Regions from separate parts of the Homo sapiens genome. Here region 2 is linked to region 1. The links are contacts of gene promoters, found by promoter capture Hi-C in blood cells and fetal thymus (Javierre and others, 2016). All regions are on one chromosome and are shown on one strand. The core of a region is centred on a gene start or on the middle of the fragment in contact, and the rest is flanking DNA. Distances in the headings are between cores, read along the strand shown. Region 1 holds the start of GGCX (gamma-glutamyl carboxylase). Region 2 overlaps PTCD3 (pentatricopeptide repeat domain 3).

Region 1 (5,780 bases), core at 2,565-5,064:
TCTCAAAATAAATAAATAAATTAATTAATTAATTAACAGACTATTCTGGGGGGACAATTTTAGCCTTACAGAAAAACTGAGCAGAAAGTACAGAGAATTCCAGGCTGGGAGTAATGGCTCAAGCCTTTAATCCCAGCACTGTCGGAGGCCAAGGAGGGAGGATCACTTGAGCTCAGGAGTTTGAGACCAGGCTGGGCAAGATGGTGAAACCCCGTCTCTACAAAAAATAAAAAAAATTAGCCAGGCACAGTGGTGCACGCCTGTAGTCCAGCTACTTGGGAGGCTGAGGTTGAAGGATCACTTGAGCCCAGAAGGACAAGGCTGCAGTGAGTCAAGATTGTGACACTGCCCCTCCAGCCTAGGCGACAGAGGGAGACTCTGTCTCAAAAAAAAGAAAAGAAAAAAAAAAAAAGAAGAAGAAGAAAGTACCGAGAGTTCCCATATCCCCCTTCAGGCTCCCCATTTTTCCTATTATTAACTTTTTGCATTAGTGTGGTACATTTGTTACAACTGATGAGCCAGTATTGGTATATTATTAACATAGCCCAGCCGGGCGCGGTGGCTCATGCCTGTAATCTCAGCACTTTGGGAGGCCGAGGCGGGTGGATCGCCTGAGGTCAGGAGTTCAAGACCAGCCTGGTCAACATAGTGAAAACCCATCTCTACTAAAAATACAAAAAATTAGCTGGGCGTGGAAGCGGGTGCCTGTAATCCCAGCTACTCAGGAGGCTGAGGCAGGAGAATCGCTTGAAACTGGGAGGCAGAGGTTGCAGTGAGCCGAGATCGCATCATTGCACTCCAGCCTGGGCAACAAGGGGGAAACTCCGTCTCAAAAAACAAACAAACAAAAAAACATAGTCCATATTGATACATTATAATTAACTAAGTCCATAAGTTACATTAGGCTTTACTCTTTTCCACACACAAGTATGACATGTATCCACCATGACACTATTACATCATACAAAATAGTTTCACTTCTGTAAAACTCCCCTGTGCTCCACCTACCATCCCTTCCTCCCCCCAACTCCACTTCCCTGGCAGTCACTGATCTTTTTATTATCTCCATAGTTTAGCCTTTTCAGAATATCATACAGTTGGGGCCAAACGCACTGCCTCATGCCTGTAATCCCAGCACTTTGGAAGGCTGAGCAGGAGGATTGCTTGAGACCAGAAGTTTAAGACCATCTTGGGCAACATAGCAAGACCTTGACTCAAAAAAATACATATATATATGTCATATGGATGGAATCATAGTTTGTAGTCTTTCCACATTGATTTCTTTCGCTTAGCAATATGAATTTAAGGTTCCTCCATGTTTTCTAATGGCTTGATAGCTTTTTTTTTTTTTCCTTGAGATGGATCCCATTATGTTGCCCCGGCTAGTCTTAAACTCCTGAACTAAAGTGATTGTCTTGCTTCAGCCTCCAGAAAAGCTGGGAATAGCTGAGACTACAGAAACATGCCATTTTTTTTCCTTTGTAGTAGAAGTTAGAAAGCTTTTTTTTTTTTTTGAGATGGAGTCTTGCTCTTTCACCCTGGCTGGAGTACAGTGGCGCAATCTGGGATCACTGCAACCTCTGCCTCCCGGGTTCAACCGATTCTCCTGCCTCAGCCTCCCCAGTAGGTGGGATTACAGGCACGTGCCACCACACCCGGCTAATTTTTGTATTTTTAGTAAAGACGGGGTTTCACCGTATTGGTCAAGCTGGTCTCGAACTCCTGACTTTGTGATCCACCTGCCTCAGCCTCCCAAAGTGCTGGGATTACAGGTGTGAGCCACCGTGCCCGGCCTTTTTTTTTTTTTTTTTTTTTTGAGACAGAGTCTTACTCTGTCACCCAGGCTGGAGTGCAGTGGTTCGATCTTGGATCACTGCAACCTCCACCTCCCGGGTACAAGTGATTCTCCTGTCTCAGCCTTCTGAGTAGCTGGGATTATAGACGCCTGCCACCACACCCGGCTCATTTTTTTTGTATTTTTAGTAGAGACGGGGTTTTACCATGTTGGCGAGGCTGATTTCAAATTGCTGACCTTAAGTGATCCAACCGCCTCGGCCTCCCAAAGTGCTGGAATTACAGGCGTGAGCCACCGCGCCTGGCCTCAAAAAAAAAAATTTTTTTTTTCAGGACGGCGTCTTGCTCTGTCGCCCAGGCTGGAGGGCAGTGGTGCGATCTCGGCTCACTGCAAGCTCTACCTCCTGGGTTCACGCCATTCTCCTGCCTCAGCCTCTCGAGTAGCTGGGACTGCAGGCGCCTGCCACCACGCCCGGATAATTTTTTGTATTTTTAGTAGAGACGGGGTTTCACCGTGTTAGCCAGGATGGTCTCGATCTCCTGACCTCGTGATCCACTCGCCTCGTCCTCCCAAAGTGCTGGGATTACAGGCGTGAGCCACCGCGCCCGGCCAAAAAAATTTCTAATACGGCAAATATTGAAAGATATAATCCACATAAACAAAGCTTTTAGGGTCTTCTATAATTTCTAACACTGTAAATGGTTCCCAAGACCCAACTGTTTGAGAACCGCTTCTCTGGGATGCCTTCTTCTTTTCCTGCTGGCTAATCCCAGTGGAGAGATTTAGGTATTTAATTCTGCTCCAGACTCACCTCTGAGAACCTTCCCTGATGGGCCACACTCTACTCACTGCCCTTGCTCTGTATCCCCTCTTCAGTTATGTTGTTCCTGTTTCCCTGGCTGCTTTTAATTTTCTTTCTTTCTTTTCTTCCCGCCTTTTCTTTTCTTTCTCTTTCTTTTTCGTTTTTTGTTTTTTGAGACGGAGTCTCACTCTGTCGCCCAGGCTGGAGTGCAGTAGCGCGATCTTGGCTCACTGCAACCTCCGCCTCCTAGGTTCAAGCGATTCTCCTGCCTCAGCCTCCCGAGTAGCTGGGATTACAGGCGCACGCCACCATGCCCGGATTATTTTTGTATTTTTAGTACAGACGGGGTTTCACCATGTTGGCCAGGCTGGTCTTTAACTCCTGACTTCAAGTGATCCGCCCGCCTTGGCCTCTCAAAGTGCTGGGATTACAGGCTTGCTGCCGCACCCGGCTTGTTTTTTTTTTTTTTTTTTTTTGAGACGGGGTCTCACTGTGTCCCCCAGGCTGGAGTGCAGTGGTGCGATCACAGCTCCCTGCAGCCTCGAACTACTGGGCTCAAGCGAACCTCCCACCTCAGCCTCCCGAGTAGCTGAAACCACAGGAGCGCGCCACGACACACAGCTAACTTTTTTTTTAGTGTTTTTTCTTTTTTTGTTGTTGCCTTTTTTTTTTTTCTTTATCGATCCTCCCGCATTGGCCTTCCAAACTGTTGGGATTACAAGCGAGAGCAGTGCCCGGCCCCTACTGCTTTGAAACCTCGGTTCTTTGCAGGTCCTGGAAAAGAAAGTGAAGGGGTCGTGCAATGGCTCAAAACCCAGGCAACATTTCCAGGCGCGTCCTCAACTCGGCGTCACTCTGACAAAAAGTTTGCCCTTTGCGCCCGATCCCTCACACCAGAGAGCACCGCAGGGACGCAGGGACGGAGAGGACTAATGGGGTCGGGGAGGACCCAAGGAAGTTGGGGAACTCAGACTCTTTTCAGTGTTTAAAAAGCAGAGGCCCCCTCGGAAGGCATAACAGGCGAGTCTAACAATGCCCCTGGAGATCAACGGCACTAAGGGGTACCTTTGCCCCGCTCCAAGGCTCCTTGTTCCGCCCCCTGCCGCCAAGCAAGGAATCCGGCGCCGCCGGTCGTGGGTAGTATTTACGACAGTGCTGGCGCTTTGCGGCCGGCCGCACAGCCGCTGACGCGTCGGGAGGCGGAGCCTAGGGAAGCAAATTCTCCTGGCGGCCTCCGTTCAGACGCGGCAGCTGTGACCCACCTGCCTCCTCCGCAGAGCAATGGCGGTGTCTGCCGGGTCCGCGCGGACCTCGCCCAGCTCAGGTAGGCTTAGGACCCCGCCCTCCGGCGGAGAGTTCCTAGGAGCGCTGGTCTCAGAGGGGCGGGGGCGGGAGGACGCCCAGTGTCTCCCGGTGAGGCGGGGGGGGGGTCCTCTGTGGGGAAGGGGGCGTGCTGTGAGACATTTGCAGCCTGCGGCTTCTGAATGATGATGACATTCGGGAACACTGCGGTTAGGGGACTGTAGTCTGAGGGGTTCTGGGACATTAGGGGATCGTGGAGAGGGGGCTGCACTGCAGGGATGTTTCCTATAGTCAGATCATTGAGGCAACCTCATTGAGCCGACCCGGGTGGGCGGAAGCTCTGAGCTGTTGGTGCAGTGATTTCTTTGATTTGAGGTGGAGCCCACCCCCGCACACATATTTTCTCCATTTATTGATTGCAGATAAAGTACAGAAAGACAAGGCTGAACTGATCTCAGGGCCCAGGCAGGACAGCCGAATAGGGAAACTCTTGGGTTTTGAGTGGACAGATTTGTCCAGTTGGCGGAGGCTGGTGACCCTGCTGAATCGACCAACGGACCCTGCAAGCTTAGCTGTCTTTCGTTTTCTTTTTGGTGAGTCCAGTTTATGGGTGGGAGCAATTTGGTTGAGAGTGGAGAATGACAATCTCTATTTTTTGGTTGCAAGTAGACTTAGCTCCCTTTTCCTCAGAGCTGAAGACATTGGTATAAAAGAAGAGGTCTTTGCGAAGTTTAGGATTAAACCTGCTTTGTCTCCTACAGTTAGGATTTACTTGGTGGCCAGAAATGCTTTTTTTTTTTTCCTTAGACGGACTTTCGCTCTTGTTGCCCAAGCTGGAGTGCAATGGCGCTATCTCGGCTCACTGTAACCTCCGCCACCCGGGTTAAAGCGATTCTCCTCCCTCAGTCTCCCGAGTAGCTGGGATTACAGGCGCCCACCACCACACCCGGCTAATTTTTTATTTTTTTTGTATGTGTGTTTTTAGTAGAGACGGGGTTTCACCATGTTGGCCAGGCTGGTCTCAAACTCCTGACCTCAGGTGATCCGCCTGCCTCGGCCTCCCAAAGTGCTGGGATTACAGGTGTGAGCCACCGTACCCAGCTAGAAATGCTATATGATATGTAGAGGCGAGGCAGCAGTGACCCATTTTGCTTGTGGCATGAAGTTGCCCAGAAGACTCAGAGAAACAGAGCAGGGGGCCACAGGGACCATACCTTTTGGCTGTGACTCCCTAATCAAGAGCTTCTTAACTGAGGCCGCAGCATGGTGTGCTTGGAATGGTTTACAGATGTGCAGAGATATTAGTCCCCTTAGCCCAGTAGTTCTCAACTGGAGGGAGTTTTGCTCCCTGGGAGACATTTGGCAATGTTTAGAGACATTTTTAGTTGTCACAACTTGGGGGAGGAAGAATAGGTGGCTGCTGGCATCTCTATAGAGGTCAGGGAGTGCTCCTAAATGTCCTGTAGTGCATTGGATAATCCCCTCAATAAATAATTAACCAGCCCAAAATGTGACTAGTCCTGAAGTTGAGAAACCCTGCTTTATCTCAAGCTGGCTTCCTGATCTGAGTAGCCTCTTCTGTTTATTCCCAGGGTGTTGACGAAATGCAACTGTTTTTGGAGTGTGCCAGGAAGCAGAAAAGGTTGAGAAGCACTCCCAGAGCACTTTCTTTCTTTCTTTCTTTCTTTTTTTGAGACGGAGTTTCGATCTTGTTGCCCAGGCTGGAGTGCAATGGTGTGATCTCGGCTCACTGCAACCTCCGCCTCCCAGGTTCAAGTGATTCTCCTGCTTCAGCTTCCCGAGTAGCTGGGATTACAGGCATGCGCCACCACACCTGGCTAATTTTTTTGTATTTTAAGTAGAGACGGGGTTTTTCCATGT
Region 2 (6,167 bases), core at 13-2,512, 560 kb before region 1:
CTTCAGGGCTACACACTTAATGTTGTCCACTACTTTATGCACTCAACGTCAACTTAAACACCTGAAGTGACGTAGACAGGGACATAACCCCTATTAACCATGTAATTTGACGTAGAAGATTGGAACACAAGATGAAGTTTGGGCCTGTGCTCACTTATTTTATGTACTCATTATCCTCAAACTACTTCATGGTTTTAATTATCATCACCAAACTGAACACACTGCAAACTATCCCCACTTAGTTCCCCCAGCCCAGGTGCATTTGAACAAATGCAAGTAGAATTATTCCATTTGGATCCAGATACTCACTGAAAACTTGCCTAGAAATACTAGCATAATTGTCGAACTATAGTAGTCTCTTAAAAATTGTTCAAAACATTATGTCCCCATCTTGACACTCATTAAAAAGGCTAAAAAGGGAATAGGAGGAAGACAAGTATGAGATATAATCTGCTATCTTATAAGAAAAGTAAATGTATCTTTTTGTTTTGAGATAGGGTCTCATTCTGTCGCCCAGGCTGGAGTGCAAGGACATCACAGCTTACTACAACCTTGAACTTCTGGGCTCAAGTGATCCTCTCACCTCAGCCTTCCGAGCAGCTGTGACTACAGGTATGTGCCACTGCACCTGGCTAATTTTTAAATTTTTTGTAGAGATGAGGTCTCGCTATGTTGCCCAGGCTGGTCTTGAACTCCTGGGCTCAAGCAATCCTCCTGTTTTGGCCTCCCAAAGTGCTGGGATTACAGGTGTGAGCCACCATGCCTAGCCAATAAATTATCTTTCTAAACAAAATACATTGATAAATTTAAAATGCCCATCAGGAAATGTAAAAAGTCCAGAAGAGAAAGCAGGGCAGAGGGTACAGGCTATGGAGAAGCAACTGGTTCACACTATCTCAAAGCTATGAGACCCTGGAAAAATTACCTAATAATTACCTTCATAAGATTATTATAAAACACACCAATGAATAAGGTATTGTAGAATTAAGTATGTGAAATGGCTAGCACAGTGTTTTGCACTTATTAGGGGCCTGACAATGAAATGTTCTAGGATCCTTTCCCTGGTATGTTAGCTCACTTTGTTACTGAGCTATGGGTCTGACACCTGTCTTTACTGAAGGACTGCACACACCTATCCAATAAAGGGGGTAAAACTAGAAAAAGACAAGCCTTAGCACTAAGAACTTCAATGCAGACTCACACCAGATGCCGATCATATTAACAAGCAGAGGGAAGCGCCTCACTAAATTACAATCTATTGCCATCACTCAGCCATACATCTGATGCTGTACCAAGCCACACACCAAAATTCTCAAACATAGCTTTCTGCAAATGTTTCTTGTGTTCAAGTGTATAATGATTCAGTCCAGTTTCCACCACTTCCATGTTTATTCTAAATCACCAAATAGCACTCTAGATTCTAAAAACTTAATGCCAGCTGCTTCTGATGTTGCTATATGTAGATTTTCATGTTGACTTATCAGCTGTGCTATTTACGTGTGTAGCTCCGCAAGTTTACATCCAGCTCCAATTCAGAGAACCACACAATTTTAGAGCTAGAAGTTTTGAGAAATTAAGTAACTTTTTGAATGCTAAGAACAATTAGTGACACAGATGGCACCAGCATCAAAGCCCCTGATCCTAGTTGAGTGTGCTTTCCTTTTCACGTATTTCTTTCTTGTGTGTTGTGGCCCAATCTTCCAAACATCCTTAAAGAGTCTAGGAAAGCTGGGCGCGGTGGCTCACGCCTGTAATCACAGTACTTACGGAGGCCGAGGTGGGTGGATCACGAGGTCAGGAGATCGAGACCATCCTGGCTACATGGTGAAACCCCGCCTCTATTAAAAACACAAAAAAGTTAGCTGGGCGTGGTGGTGGGTGCATGTAGTCCCAGCTACTCAGGAGGCTGAGGAGGGAGAATGGCATGAACCTGGGAGGCGGAGCTTGCAGTCAGCCGAGATTGCGCCACTGCACTCCAGCCTGGGCGACAGAGCAAGACTCCATCTCAAAAAAAAAAAAAAGGAAAAGGGTACAGGAAATCTGGGAGCACTGCATACCTACCTAACATTAAAAACAGAAGCTAAGGTAGAAGGGTGATACAATTTCTCTACCAGTGCTACAATAAACCAACAAAGCTGCAATTCTACTTCGCCTGTAATTCTTAAGTAACACTAAAGCTAAAAATGAAATAAACTACTAAAAATATAAAGCACGCAGCCATCAAAGCAGAGTAAGTACAGCAGGACCTGTAACTCTTACTCAAAATATATGAATCATATAACTTGGGCCCACTTCAAAGCCCATGTTATTAGAGGGGCTTTAATCGAACTCAGTCACCTGCTTGCAAAAGCTGATCAAACATGTCCACAGAGGCTTTGACTTTTCTGAGCTCAATTCGTTCCTTCAGGGCGGCTTCACTTATGTCTTTGATCTGAGGTTCAAAGTACTCAGGCATTAAACACTAGGAAAACAAGATGACTAAAGTTACTACAAACAGGTAAAGGTGAGGGAAGGATAACTGAGTAGGACAAAACTTTTATCACCAACATACCAAAGTAAAACTTCACTGCTCCAATTCATGTTTCCTGCACCAGATACTACTGATCATTTTAACATCACTGTCTTCACAGGGAATTGAACTAAACCTTTCATCTCTAATGCTGTGTATCATCTAAACATTTAATACTACCCAAGGTATGCTGATTTTACCTCATTCACTAACTTATTCAAATACTTTCTGAATGCCTACTATTTTACCCCAGACATTAAGCTTGGCACTGGGGATACAGAGACGAAAGGCATTCTCTACCTTCAGGGTGCTCACAATCTAATGGAGAAAGACACTGTCTTAGTTTAGGATTTTAATATTTTGACTTACACAATCACACTGGCTTCCTCATCTATGTGCAAGTTCTACTATGAAAACAAGAAGTGTGTGTTTCCCTGTGAGCTTTGGGAAGCAGAGAGATGTAGGGATATGGGAGCAGTTTAGATATGATGAGTCTGAGATTAGTACTTCCACCAACAAACTCAGGAGGGCAGAGGCGCATCTGTTTTGCTCACCACTGTATGGACAAGCACTAAGCACAATACCCACCACACTGCATAAATCCTCACTCCAAAACTACAGAACAAAGAGGGAGCTGGAAATACAATGTGGAGTTCAAAGTAAAGGGATCTAGGCTAGATATACAAAAGAGTACCAAATGGATTATAAGCGTCACTGAAACAGAAGAGTATACACAATAAAAAGAGAAAATGAGCATAAAAATCTAAGAAAGATACCCATGCTTAAGAAGTGGATCAAGGCCGGACACGGTGGCTCACACCTGTAATCCCAGGACTTTGGGAGGCCAAGTCGGGTGGATCACGAGGTCAGGAGTTCAAGACCAGCCTGGCCAAGATGGTAAAACCCCGTCTCTACTAAAACTATAAAAATTAGCCAGGTGCGGTGGCAGGCACCTGTAATCCCAGCTGCTCAGGAGGCTGAGGCAGGAGAATTGCTTGAACCCGGGCGGCAGAGGCTGCAGTGAGCCAAGATCGTGCCACTGCACTCCAGCCTGGGCAACAGAGTGAGACTCCATCTCAAACAAAAACAAACAAAAAAAGAAGCGGATCAAGAGCAAGCAGCAGTGGCTTACACCTGCAATCCCAGAGATTGCAGAGGCTGAGAAGGGTGTTTGCTTGAGCCCAGAAATTTGAGACCAGCCTGGGCAGTGCAGTGAGACAAGACCCTGTTCTCTACAAAAACTAAAAATTAAAAAAAATCAGCCAGGCATGGTGGCACACCCCTGTAGTCCAAGCTACTTGTGAGGCTGAGGCAAGAGGATCACTTGAGCCCAGGGGTTCCAGGCTGCAATGAGCTATGATTGTACCATTGCACTCCAGCCTGGGTGACAGCATGATGCCGTTTCAAAAAAAAAAAAAAGGAAGAGAAAGATGTGTATAGAGAGGTAGTGAAGGAAACTTCAGTCATAGAATTAAAGACCTAAGAGCATGGTGTCACAAAAATCAAATGGGGAAAATATTAAGATGAAGAGCAAATAAATACAGAAAGAATTTTAAAGTTAGTCTTGTGATCAAAGCTAACTCCACACTTTAAAAGGCTTATCATCCAAATATTGAGGGTATTCAAATAGCTACTGAAATATTAGCCATGAAAGCCTGGTTTAATTTACATTTAAAATAGTATTATGTAAATAATGTAACTACCTCTCCTTACCGGTATATGAGGTTCAGCTATGTCCTTCTGAAAATATTTGGGGTATGAATTAATAATAAACTTGGCCACATTCTCCCCGGATTTCTTTGCCAGTAAAAATGAACGCTATATAAAGAAAAAGATTTAAATACATGTAATTTAAACTCAAGCAAGATTATAGTTACACTCTCAGCAAGAATTTCTCCCCCCTCACAAAAAAAAACAAATGCAACAACACGCAGAATCCCAATTAGAAATTATAGACTATCCCACCTTTTCTACTGTGATATAATTTCAGTTAGCATCTTATACACAGCTTGAAATATATAAAAAGCAAGCCATTTAAACTGAGTGGGTCACTCCAGTGTGAAAAAGCCCTAAGTATTAGAAACCAAAACCAAAAATCCTTTCCCCATTGACGATATGTACATCTTTTTGAAGAAAGTAGTAAAGGATTCACATAGTCTATCAATTTCTCAGCATTTGTAAACCTTTCCCAGGTTATTACAACTAAATTATTTATGTACTGTTGTACGCAAACCAGAGAGATAAAACACTAGAAAATTATATGAAAATACTCACAGATTCCAAAGATGATGCTGGCATAAGGTAAGGATCATCTTGAAACACATAAGGCACAGCTGTGGTATCCTGTGGAAAAGACATAATACAATTTCTATATTTATTTTGAAGACAGCTCACTGTAACTTTTAGCTCCTGGACTCAAGGGATTCTCCTGCCTCAGCCTCCCAAGTAGCCTAGGCTACAGGTGTGTGCCACCACAGCTGGCCATTTCACAAAATTTTTTGCAGAGAGGGTGTCTTGCTGTGTCACCCAAGCTGGTCTCAAACTCCTGGCCTCAAGCAGTTCTCTCACTTCTGCCTTACAAAGGGCTAGGATTATAGACGTGAGCCACTGTATCCAGCCCACAAGTCTTTCTAGCTAAATTTTTAAGAGGACCTTGTGAGTTTTGATAAACAAAAATTCCGTAAGTTGTAATTATGTATGTAACCTAAATGCGCAAACGTGTGTGGGCATATATACATGTATATATAGAGAAAAAAGACAAAAGACAAACACCTGCACTGTACTCTCAGCTCTACAAGACTTGCCTTTAATTATGCAAGGCAAGCAATGGCTTAAGCCTCCCTCCCCATGGCTGATTTTAATATTTAAGTTTGCTACCACTGGGGACTGTTTTAAACTCTAGGTAAGAATCATCTGAATTAACTAGTCCTAACAGCAGAATCCCAGAATAGGATTTCCTCCAAAGCAAGGTCACTATCCACCCACGCTCAACTTCACCAAGAGTCCCTCCTCCAAATGGAAGATATCACCGTGCCCTCTGAGGAATGAACAACAGAACCTTCTCCCACGTCCTGTTACCCATTAAAATTGCTCCCTAAACCTGAGCATAATCAACTCTCCAATACCACCAGGGGCCCCACTGAGAAATGCCCCAGAATTGCTTTCTTTATTCTCTTCTGTGTCTGAGTGCCTTACTTGGGCCTTTATTCCAAAGCAAAAACTTATCCTATATCCTTAATGCTGTTTTACTGACCTGGACTCCTCAGGGAGGGGGCACAGAAGCTTCCCTGCAGCTCTCAACGGAAAGCTGCTCATACCTGGAACCTGGAGGCAGTGTTTTATTTTGGACCTAGCTTTCTGCTACCCCTTTCAAAAACCCCTTTCCCTTGAGCCTCACCTTAGCAGCCCTGTTGTGAACTTCAGTTTTTATTTGAATTATACTAATGGAAAGCCAATGTTGAATTCTTAAGAGTGATATGATCCAGGGTCACTACAGCTGCTGAACTGAGAGCAGTGTGCAGGGAGGTGCAGTGGGAGACGACAGAGACTGCTGCAATTAATCCAGACTTGTAAGACGACAATAACCAAGGTGACTGGTAGTGATATCAGGCATCTAAAATTTTGATATTTTGCAGAAAAGAGTTAACAGACCTGAAAC

What was found. The method cuts DNA at HindIII sites, captures the fragments that hold promoters and counts their contacts. A CHiCAGO score of 5 or more calls a contact.
Region 2: a contact is called between a fragment that was not itself captured here and the fragment with the promoter of GGCX in region 1, in 1 of 17 cell types (monocytes). The highest score is 5.1, in monocytes.

The regions. Positions count from the first base shown.
Region 1 is chr2:85,559,527-85,565,306 of GRCh38, reverse strand. GGCX (gamma-glutamyl carboxylase) reads left to right here and starts at 3,814. Exons shown (of 15, transcript NM_000821.7): 1 at 3,814-3,921; 2 at 4,322-4,492. The coding sequence starts at 3,879. RefSeq lists an enhancer at 3,611-3,840. The HindIII fragment of the contact is 2,007 bases long and covers 2,462-4,468 here.
Region 2 is chr2:86,115,215-86,121,381 of GRCh38, reverse strand. It overlaps PTCD3 (pentatricopeptide repeat domain 3), which reads right to left. Exons shown (of 24, transcript NM_017952.6): 5 at 4,784-4,852; 6 at 4,223-4,327; 7 at 2,338-2,461. Among named protein-coding and RNA genes, the nearest start is that of PTCD3, 12 kb to the right of the region's middle. The HindIII fragment of the contact is 3,021 bases long and covers 1-2,772 here.